Linked DNA regions of Homo sapiens: region 2 is linked to region 1. The links are contacts of gene promoters, found by promoter capture Hi-C in human tissues and cell types (Jung and others, 2019). All regions are on one chromosome and are shown on one strand. The core of a region is centred on a gene start or on the middle of the fragment in contact, and the rest is flanking DNA. Distances in the headings are between cores, read along the strand shown.

Region 1 (3,886 bases), core at 325-2,824:
TTGCAGCATGGGAAAGAAAAAGCATAGGTAGGGCACGTTTCCTACTGCTCCTTAGAGCTGTTTGAGAACTTCGAGGAAAATCTGAAAGCTCTTCCTCATTTTCGGGAGAACATAAACTTTTTTCCATGTAAAATCATTTCTGGGCTGGTTTTGGTGAATTTACACCTCAAGCCAATGGGAGAAAAGTAGCCAGACTAAGCCTCTAGACAAGAAAGTAATGATTATGTATGTTATTTTGTGTGTGGTCTCCTGGACTACGCATAATTTATGTTAGCCCTGCCTGTAGAGTTAGAGCACAAGCTTGAGTGAGGACTCAAGAACTAATGACAGAGAGAGCAGCAGAAGGAACTTTTCTTGCAAGTCCTTAACTACTGCATATTGTTTTATGCAGAAGACAACATAGAATCAACTATTTGTAGCATTTTAAGGAATCCATGTACAAAATTTTTTTTGACAGGGTCTCATTCTGTCGCCCAGGCTGGAGTGCAGTAGGGTGATCACAGCTCACTGCAGCCTCGACCTCCCTGGGCTCAGGTGATCCTCCCACCTCATCCTCCCGAGTAGCTGGGACTAGAGGCATGCATCATCACCCCAGCTTATTTTTTTTTATTTTTATTTTGTAGGGACGGGGTTTCATCATGTTGACTAGGCTGGTTTCGAACTCCTGAGCTCAAACTTTCCGCCTGCCTCGGCCTCCCAAAGGGCTGGGATTACAGGCATGAGCCACCGCGCCCGGCCTCAAACTCTTACCAGACCCTTTAATTTCCTCTCCGATACTCCGATTCTACTCAAACTGTTCACCTACACAGAGGAAACTCAGTGATTCCTGGGGGAGCCTATGCTATATTTGTGCATCCTCATTTGTGGACAAAATTCTTTCTTGCTGTGACTTGAAAGCAGCCTCCCTTTACCTTTCACTTATTAGTCCTAGTTCTGTTCTCTGCTGCTAAGAAAAAGGGTCTGATCCTTCTTTCACTGATCAGCCCTCCAAATATTGGAGAAGCACACTGCGTTTCCATGGGCCTGCAGTCCTTTTCCGGGATCATCTTCCCTAGAACCCCTCAACTGTCTCTCATTTCACACGGTTTAACCATCTTACCTTTAACCCATATTTCATTTGTTTGTCTCAATGTCCCTCATGAAAGTTGACCCAGACGGGTCCGCAGAACAACTTTTGCTGAGAAGGCAAAGGAAATTCTCGCCCAAATTGTGGAGAAGGCAGTCGAACCAATTAAACCTAAAGCTAAAACTGTAATAGAAAAGAACTTTCAAGCTCGCAATGAAAAGGCTATGCATGGATTTATCTCATCACAGCCACTAGCCACACCTCCACTCGTGCAGTGCGCCTGCGAGCCGAGCAGAAACCAATGGCCCATCGTAGTGAATTTCTCGGGTAAAGTGACATTCTCCGCTTTTGAATGCTCCCTTCGCCCAGCCGCCAACCCCTCGCCCCAATTTCCATTTTAAATGAAAGTCTCCCACTTTCTAGCTGAGACAGACAAAAATAAAACTCGGGCAAAACCAATCGCAGAGAGGCAGCTCACTGTCACTTCCTGGGTCACTTCCAGAAGTCACTTCCGGGGTCGAGGCGAGGCCAACGATACGCCTGCTGCAGCAGGAGGAGTTACGAGCCGGGCCGCGCGCTGCCTAAATACCTAAACCAGGTTTAGCGCCTGCTCATATAAAGCTCTCCTAACTCGTCTTCCGGTGGGAATTTCTTCACGTGGGCCGGAGTCGGAGACTGAGTTTAGCTTTACTGAGGAGCTCTAAATTTAGGCGGGTAAGTGCCGCAGATATCGCCCGTGGTTCCTGCGTTTAAATGGAACGGGAAGGGGTGTGTCAGGATTCATCCATGTTCTCCTGATATTTCCTCCTAATACCTGAAACCCTTGGGGTCTGAAAACGAAAGAAGGGGATAGAGAAGCTTTGGTTGCCGTGGCAACTGCGGGTCACCAATTTGGGTTTTTGAGGATTTGGAAAGGGAGGATTTGTGTAACTACTCCTGAAAACACGTGATGGGTCGGATTCAAATTCAGTTGTTACTTATAATTCATACTCCTAGCCACATGCTTTGAATTTAGAAGGTTTACTCTGGGTATAATGCAGAGATGCAAAATCTGAGCCAGGGTAATTGTTTAGAAAGCTGATGCGGTAATCTAGGCACTGTTTGAAGGGGTCTTGAACTAGAGTAGTGCTGTAGGATTGAAGAGGGGAAATAGGGGAAATTTGGAGGTAGTATCAGGGGCACTAATACTCGATTTCATATGGGTAATGAGGAAGGGGCCCTGAGCATCTTTAGGAGTAAGTCTAAACTCACCTTGGCTTATGATGATTTTTCTAGGTTCGTTTCTCACCTTCCGCACCCCTCCTCCACACGCACCTCGAATTCTAGTCATGCCAAGTAGTTTGGTGTTCTATTTCCTAGACTATCGTCCTCACCATTTTTTGTGATGTTAGGCAGGTTCCATCATTTCACTAAGCCCCTCAGTTTTTTCAACCTTCACATGGAAGAAAGTAATAGTACCCACCTCAGGATTGCTGTGGGGATTAAATTAGATAATTTATACTTCTAGTGCATAGTAAGGGCCTAATAAATATTAGCTGCTACTTCTATTCTTACTGTACTTTTCATATTGTTTTGTTATTATACGTTTTGCTGTTTCTTCGTCTAGACTTGAGATTTTTTAAATTAGAGGGGCAGTATCTTATTTATCTTTACATGGACTTGAAACATTAGTGGTTCGGTCTTTAATGGATCATTCATTTTGGCTGTTGCTGACATAGTTAAATTCATTTTTTACTTTAAAAGAGCTGACAGGTATAATGCATTTTGCTAATCAAATTATATTTATTAGATAAAAAGATAGCCGTTTTTCTGTACAACTCAGAAGACTGTGGATTAAGATGTACAGAAAGTAACTGATATCTCATCTTGTAATAGGTATGAGTGATTTCAGTGAAGAATTAAAAGGGCCTGTGACAGATGATGAAGAAGTGGAAACATCTGTGCTCAGTGGTGCAGGAATGCATTTTCCTTGGCTTCAAACATACGTAGAAACTGTGGGTAAGTAAAATAATAACATTGAGCCATTTTAACTTTAAGGAGGTGGTAAGATTCAATAGGGATACAAAATGAATAACCAGACTGGTTTAATTTTCAAGAGGAATATGTGGAGGGTTTTTTGGCTAAAAGCCAAAAGAAATCTTTTTTCTTTTAGAATTCTTTGCCCTTGGATTAATAATAGATAGTCTGTATTATGCTAGATACACATTTTTTCCAGTAATACTTACTGAGCACTTTTATCTCTGGCATTGATTAAATATTGGGGAGTCATAGGTGAAGATATGGTCTCTGCCATTGAGGAAAACATGCCTAGGAAGTGTTCAAGAAGTTGCTGTTGAATTGCATTGAAATTATTTCGAATAGAATTGATCGTGTAATAGATTTTTTTTTTTTTTGAGACAGAGTCTTGCTCTGTTGCCCACGCTGGAGTGCAGTGGCTAGATCTTGGCTCACTGCAACCTCTGTCTCCCAGGTTCAAGTGATTCTACTCAGCCTCCCGAGTAACTGAGATTACAGGTACCAGCCACCACGCCTGGCTAGTTTTTGTATTTTTAATAGAGACAGGGTTTCACCATGTTGGGCAGGCTGTTCTTGAACTCTTGACCTCAAGTGACCTGCCCACCTCAGCCTCCCAAAGTGGTGGGATTACAGGCATGAGCCACTGCACCCGGCCTAGATAAAAGAGCATTTTCCCCCATTTTTATCTAATGTAAATGCAAGCATGATTTTCTATGGGATAAAATTTCCCCCATTTTTATCTAATATAAATGCAAGTATGTTTTTCTATGGGATAAATTCCCTATAAGAATATATTTAATATAA
Region 2 (4,427 bases), core at 1,290-3,789, 1.1 Mb after region 1:
ATGGTAAAGGAAAAGTTTAAAAACTGCTGTTTCTCATTGTTTCTGTGTTCCACAGGAACATTCCTTTCAAGCTGCTCACAGGGGTAACTTTCTTGATAACTCACATTTATGGACTTACTTCACTTCCCTGTCTCACTTCTCCATTCCAAGACCACAATTTCTGGGATTAACTTCCAAATAAATAACTTATATGAAAATCCTTATCTTGGGATCTACTTTTGGAGAAACCAAATGAAAAGAAGCCCTTCCTTAGAACCCTTGCTTTTTCAAGACATAGTTTAACAGCAATTGAGTTTCATTCTTTTATTTCACAGAAGGGAAACAGAAAGTGAGATAGGTAAAATGACATAACCAGGAGCATACACATCGTTTATCTGACTCAACTGACTCACATCATTTTCATCAGCCACAGCCTTCTTAAATCAATACGGTTCCAAGGCCCACCACATCTACTCATCATTGCCTTTCCCATCACCACCATACAACATGGGAGAATAAGCATACTCATGCCACGTGTATTCCCTTTCATATTTGTCTCCATATTTGAAGTGTCTTTTTTTGCAATATCCTTGGGGATCTAGAGCATGAGACTTCTTTCTGCTTGCAACTCTTGTTTTATCATCAGTAATTTCATAAATTCTAAATCCTGGGGGCTCTCCCATACCTGTGAGGTACAGGAGGATAAAGAGATGTGTACAATACGGCTTCTCCATAAAATCTCATATTCTTCTTGTCATGCAAGATGCATGTGGTACCATGTTCTAATCTTAGGTAATTTATCCATCGGATTCTTTTACTTTCTTTGTTCTTCTATTTTCCCTTTGGACTATACTCTGCTTAAGATTTTTAAAGATCAATCTAAGGGTCTTTGTGATTGAGATAATAACAGAGAAAAGCATAACCAACCTTGACTTCTTTTGTTTCTCTGGACTTTTTTGTTTTGTATTGTTTCATGTGCAGACTCCTGATAGCTAACATTAGATTGGTGCAAAAGTTATTGCGGTTTTTGCCATTGCTTTCAGTGGCAAAAACTGCAATAACTTTTGTATCAACCTAATATTTATTGATCACCCATTCGATGTCATGTTTATCCTCCATACAGTTTGCAAGGGATGCAGCTGGAATACTTGTCAAGGGTTCTGACCCCAGAGATCATGCCATTAGCCTTTCATTGTCAGAATGACTAAGATTCGCCAGCCTAGACCCTGCTGCTTTTATTTCTTTAAGCCTGAGTGACCATCCTGATACTTTTCTCAAACTTCAAAAAAAAATTTGATATTCGATTCTCCCCATCTGGGTCATTTGGCAGCTAATTTCAAGTTCAGTTGTTTCCAGTCTTTGGATTTTCATCCCGATCTGGCCGCGTCACCTAAAAGATTTTTATAAAGTGAACTATTTATGTATTCTAGAATTATTCACTACTAATAAGACAACACTACAATACTCTTGTCAACTATAAAAAGAGTAGAAATTGTTCTTTAATTTAAAAAATGTGAACTGTGTCAACTTTCTTTGGACTTGGTCTTTTAAAAGTGACTTGGGATTAGAGCTCTGAATAGAATAACTATGCTGGAAGCAAACACAGCACTCTTTCTACAAGACTCCTCTCGGAAGCCAAGAATTTTATGTGTTCGGCAGAGGTTTATATTATACTCGAGAGTTCACAACAGGCTTCATTGGCATGCCAACCACAGTGGCAGACCCCCTTTTTTTTTTTTTCTTGTGAGCTCAGGGCATTATAAAGAAGAAATAATACACAATAATTAAAAACTTCTGAGATTCCTGTTTGAAACCTATGGACAAATATTATTTCCAACAATTGGAGCAGAGCATTTTATTTCCAAAAAATGTCTGAAGACAAGCCACTTTTGTTCGGATAAAAAAACCAACCAACAAGCATAATCATTTGAGCTACTCTTTGTATCATGCTTTGTTGAGTATACTTAGAACTGCTGAACAGGACACACATGAATATACAGAATGACCCAAGAACTGAGTTGCCTTGGGAATGGGAAATAAGACACGTTACTAGTGCATGCTAGGATTAGGATGAAGTGGTGTGTATTTCTTAGTTTTAATGGCAATATTGTGGGTTGGGTTTGGATAAAATCCCCAAGTGAAAAATTCTGATTCCAAGCTTAACTGAGCACTTTATTTTAATTATTATATTTTTATTTTTAATACACTGTATTTTTTTCCTTCCGATTATAGGTTAAACACTCATTCATTCACTCTTCATTCTTTTAATAGTTTTGAGTAGCTTTTATGTGCCAGTCATGGGCTAAATCTTGAAATATTAACTTAAACAAGATAGAGTCCTTGCCATTAAAATGCTTACAATTTAGAAAACATATGCTTCTGGAAGAAAATATGAAATGTTTTTAAAAGAATGAGAAAGGAACATTTTAAGAGTAATTCTGGTTTGACTGCCTATAACTGCATAATGTGCCGTTATGCGACGGTGGCTGGAAAGTCACTCACATAGCTGACAATTGACGCTGGGTGTTGAATGGGAAGCTTAACTTTGGCTATTGGCCTAGGGCCTCAGTTCTTCTACATGTGGGCCTCTCCAAGGGCTACCTGTGTCTCCTCACAGCATGCCACCCAGATTCTACAAGGCAGGAAGTAGACATTGATCATCCTTTTAAGATTTCAATTCAGAAGTTTCAGAATATTATTTCTGCCGCATTCTGTTGACCAAAGGAAGTTACAAGTTTGGCCCAGAATTCAAAGGCAAATACATGCAAAAAATAAATAAATTTAAAAAAGAGGAATTGTCAGGGGATGTCTTTGGATGCTAACAGCCACAAGTGTATTATTAAGGAGTGAAACATGTGTTGGACTTCTAACCTTCTAGAACTGTAAGGACTCATGTGATTAGGTTGGATTCACTAAAATAATCAAGGGTAATATCCCCATCTCAAAGTCCTCAACCTTAATCACAACTGCAAAGTTCCTTTTGCATGTAAGGTGAGATATTCACAGGTCCTAACATTAGTATGGAGAAATCTTTGGGGAAACCATTATTTTGCCTAAATTACTTCCCTTAAAATATAATCAAACCAAAGTTACAATACTACATTTACTTTCTTTGTTTGTCTAGTGCTCTCCCTTCTTCGTGCAATTATACAAGTTCATGCATCTCAATTCCACCCTGCTTCAAGGCACAAATTAAATCTGACTGCCTCCACGAAGTCTTCCTCAATTATTTTATTCTTTGTTGATATTCTTCTCCCTGGAGCTCCTTTCATACCTGATCTATTTTGTCAGGAAATGGCCCTCTTCATTTCATATGTGTTATTTGGTTCTTCCCAAGATTTGTCTGCCCCTTACAGGGAAGGAAGGGAACATGCCCAAAAATAGCACCCTGTCCTAGCTCGTCTGTGTTCATGCTTCAAATTAGTAAAAGCTTCCTTACTGCTCTCCATGACTTTAATCTCTTAGTATTTAAATCCTTCCTACACATTTCAATTTTAAAATGCTCTCTAAAATGCCCTTCCAGTTATATCACATTTCCACTCAATATTTTACAACGTGTCCTATTGCCTTTATACTAAGAATAAAACTCTTTAGTCCTTCAGTCAATGCCCACCTACTCTGTGGTTAGAACCCTTCTCTCCTAACATATAACCTATTCATCACCCAAAATAGCATTCTGAAGAGATGTTTTCTCTTGTACCCATAGAGGGAGGGAGAGAAAGGGAGGGAAAGAATACAAATTATTTGCTATTTCCTTCCCTCTCTCCCTTCCTTCCTTCCTTCCTTCCTCCTATTTAAAATATGGATATCTAGTTGTTCCAGCGCCAGTTTTCAAAACATTATCCTTTCTTTATTCTCCATTAAGTTACTTTGGTTTCTTTGTTGAAAAACAATTGTTCAAATATGTGAGTTACTATTTTATGACTCTCTATTCTGTTTTACTGATCTACAGCTCTATCCTTATGTCTTAACCATATTGTCATGATTATTATAGCTTTATAATAAAACTTGAAATCCTATGACATAAGAACTCCAACTTTGTTTCTTTTTTAAAACTATTTTGGTCATTTTGTGACTGGACACACTAGCTCATGCCTGTAATCCTAGCACTTTGGGGAGACTGAGGTGGGAGGATTGCTTGTGGCCAAGACTTCAAGACCAACCTGGCCAAGATAGTGAGACCCTATCTCATTAAAACAAACAAACAAACAAAAACTATTTTGGTCATTTTGGGTCCTTTGTACTTCCTTATAAATTCTTAAATCAGCTTAGCAATTCTACCAAAACAGAAAACAAACAAATAAGCAAAAACACCTCTTTCTGGGATTCTGATTGTGATTGCATTGAATCTATAGATCAGTTTGAGCAGAATAGACATTTTGATAATATTGAGTCCTTCAATTCATGAGGACTCATTTGTTTGGGTCTTCTAATTTCTCTTTGCCATG

What was found. The method cuts DNA at HindIII sites, captures the fragments that hold promoters and counts their contacts. A contact is called where the count stands out against the background at its distance.
Region 2: a fragment that was not itself captured here is called in contact with the fragment with the promoter of TAF1A in region 1 in 1 of the 25 tissues and cell types used here (mesenchymal stem cells).

The regions. Positions count from the first base shown.
Region 1 is chr1:222,587,621-222,591,506 of GRCh38, reverse strand. TAF1A (TATA-box binding protein associated factor, RNA polymerase I subunit A) reads left to right here and starts at 1,574. Exons shown (of 11, transcript NM_005681.4): 1 at 1,574-1,780; 2 at 2,942-3,064. The coding sequence starts at 2,944. It overlaps TAF1A-AS1 (TAF1A antisense RNA 1), which reads right to left and starts at 1,587. Exons shown (of 3, transcript NR_110613.1): 1 at 1,545-1,587; 2 at 1,100-1,249. RefSeq lists enhancers at 541-1,073, 1,074-1,607. The HindIII fragment of the contact is 5,175 bases long and covers 1-3,068 here.
Region 2 is chr1:221,445,957-221,450,383 of GRCh38, reverse strand. All of the region lies in intron 3 of LOC105372932 (a long non-coding RNA gene), which reads right to left. Among named protein-coding and RNA genes, the nearest start is that of LINC02817, 110 kb to the right of the region's middle. The HindIII fragment of the contact is 3,254 bases long and covers 913-4,166 here.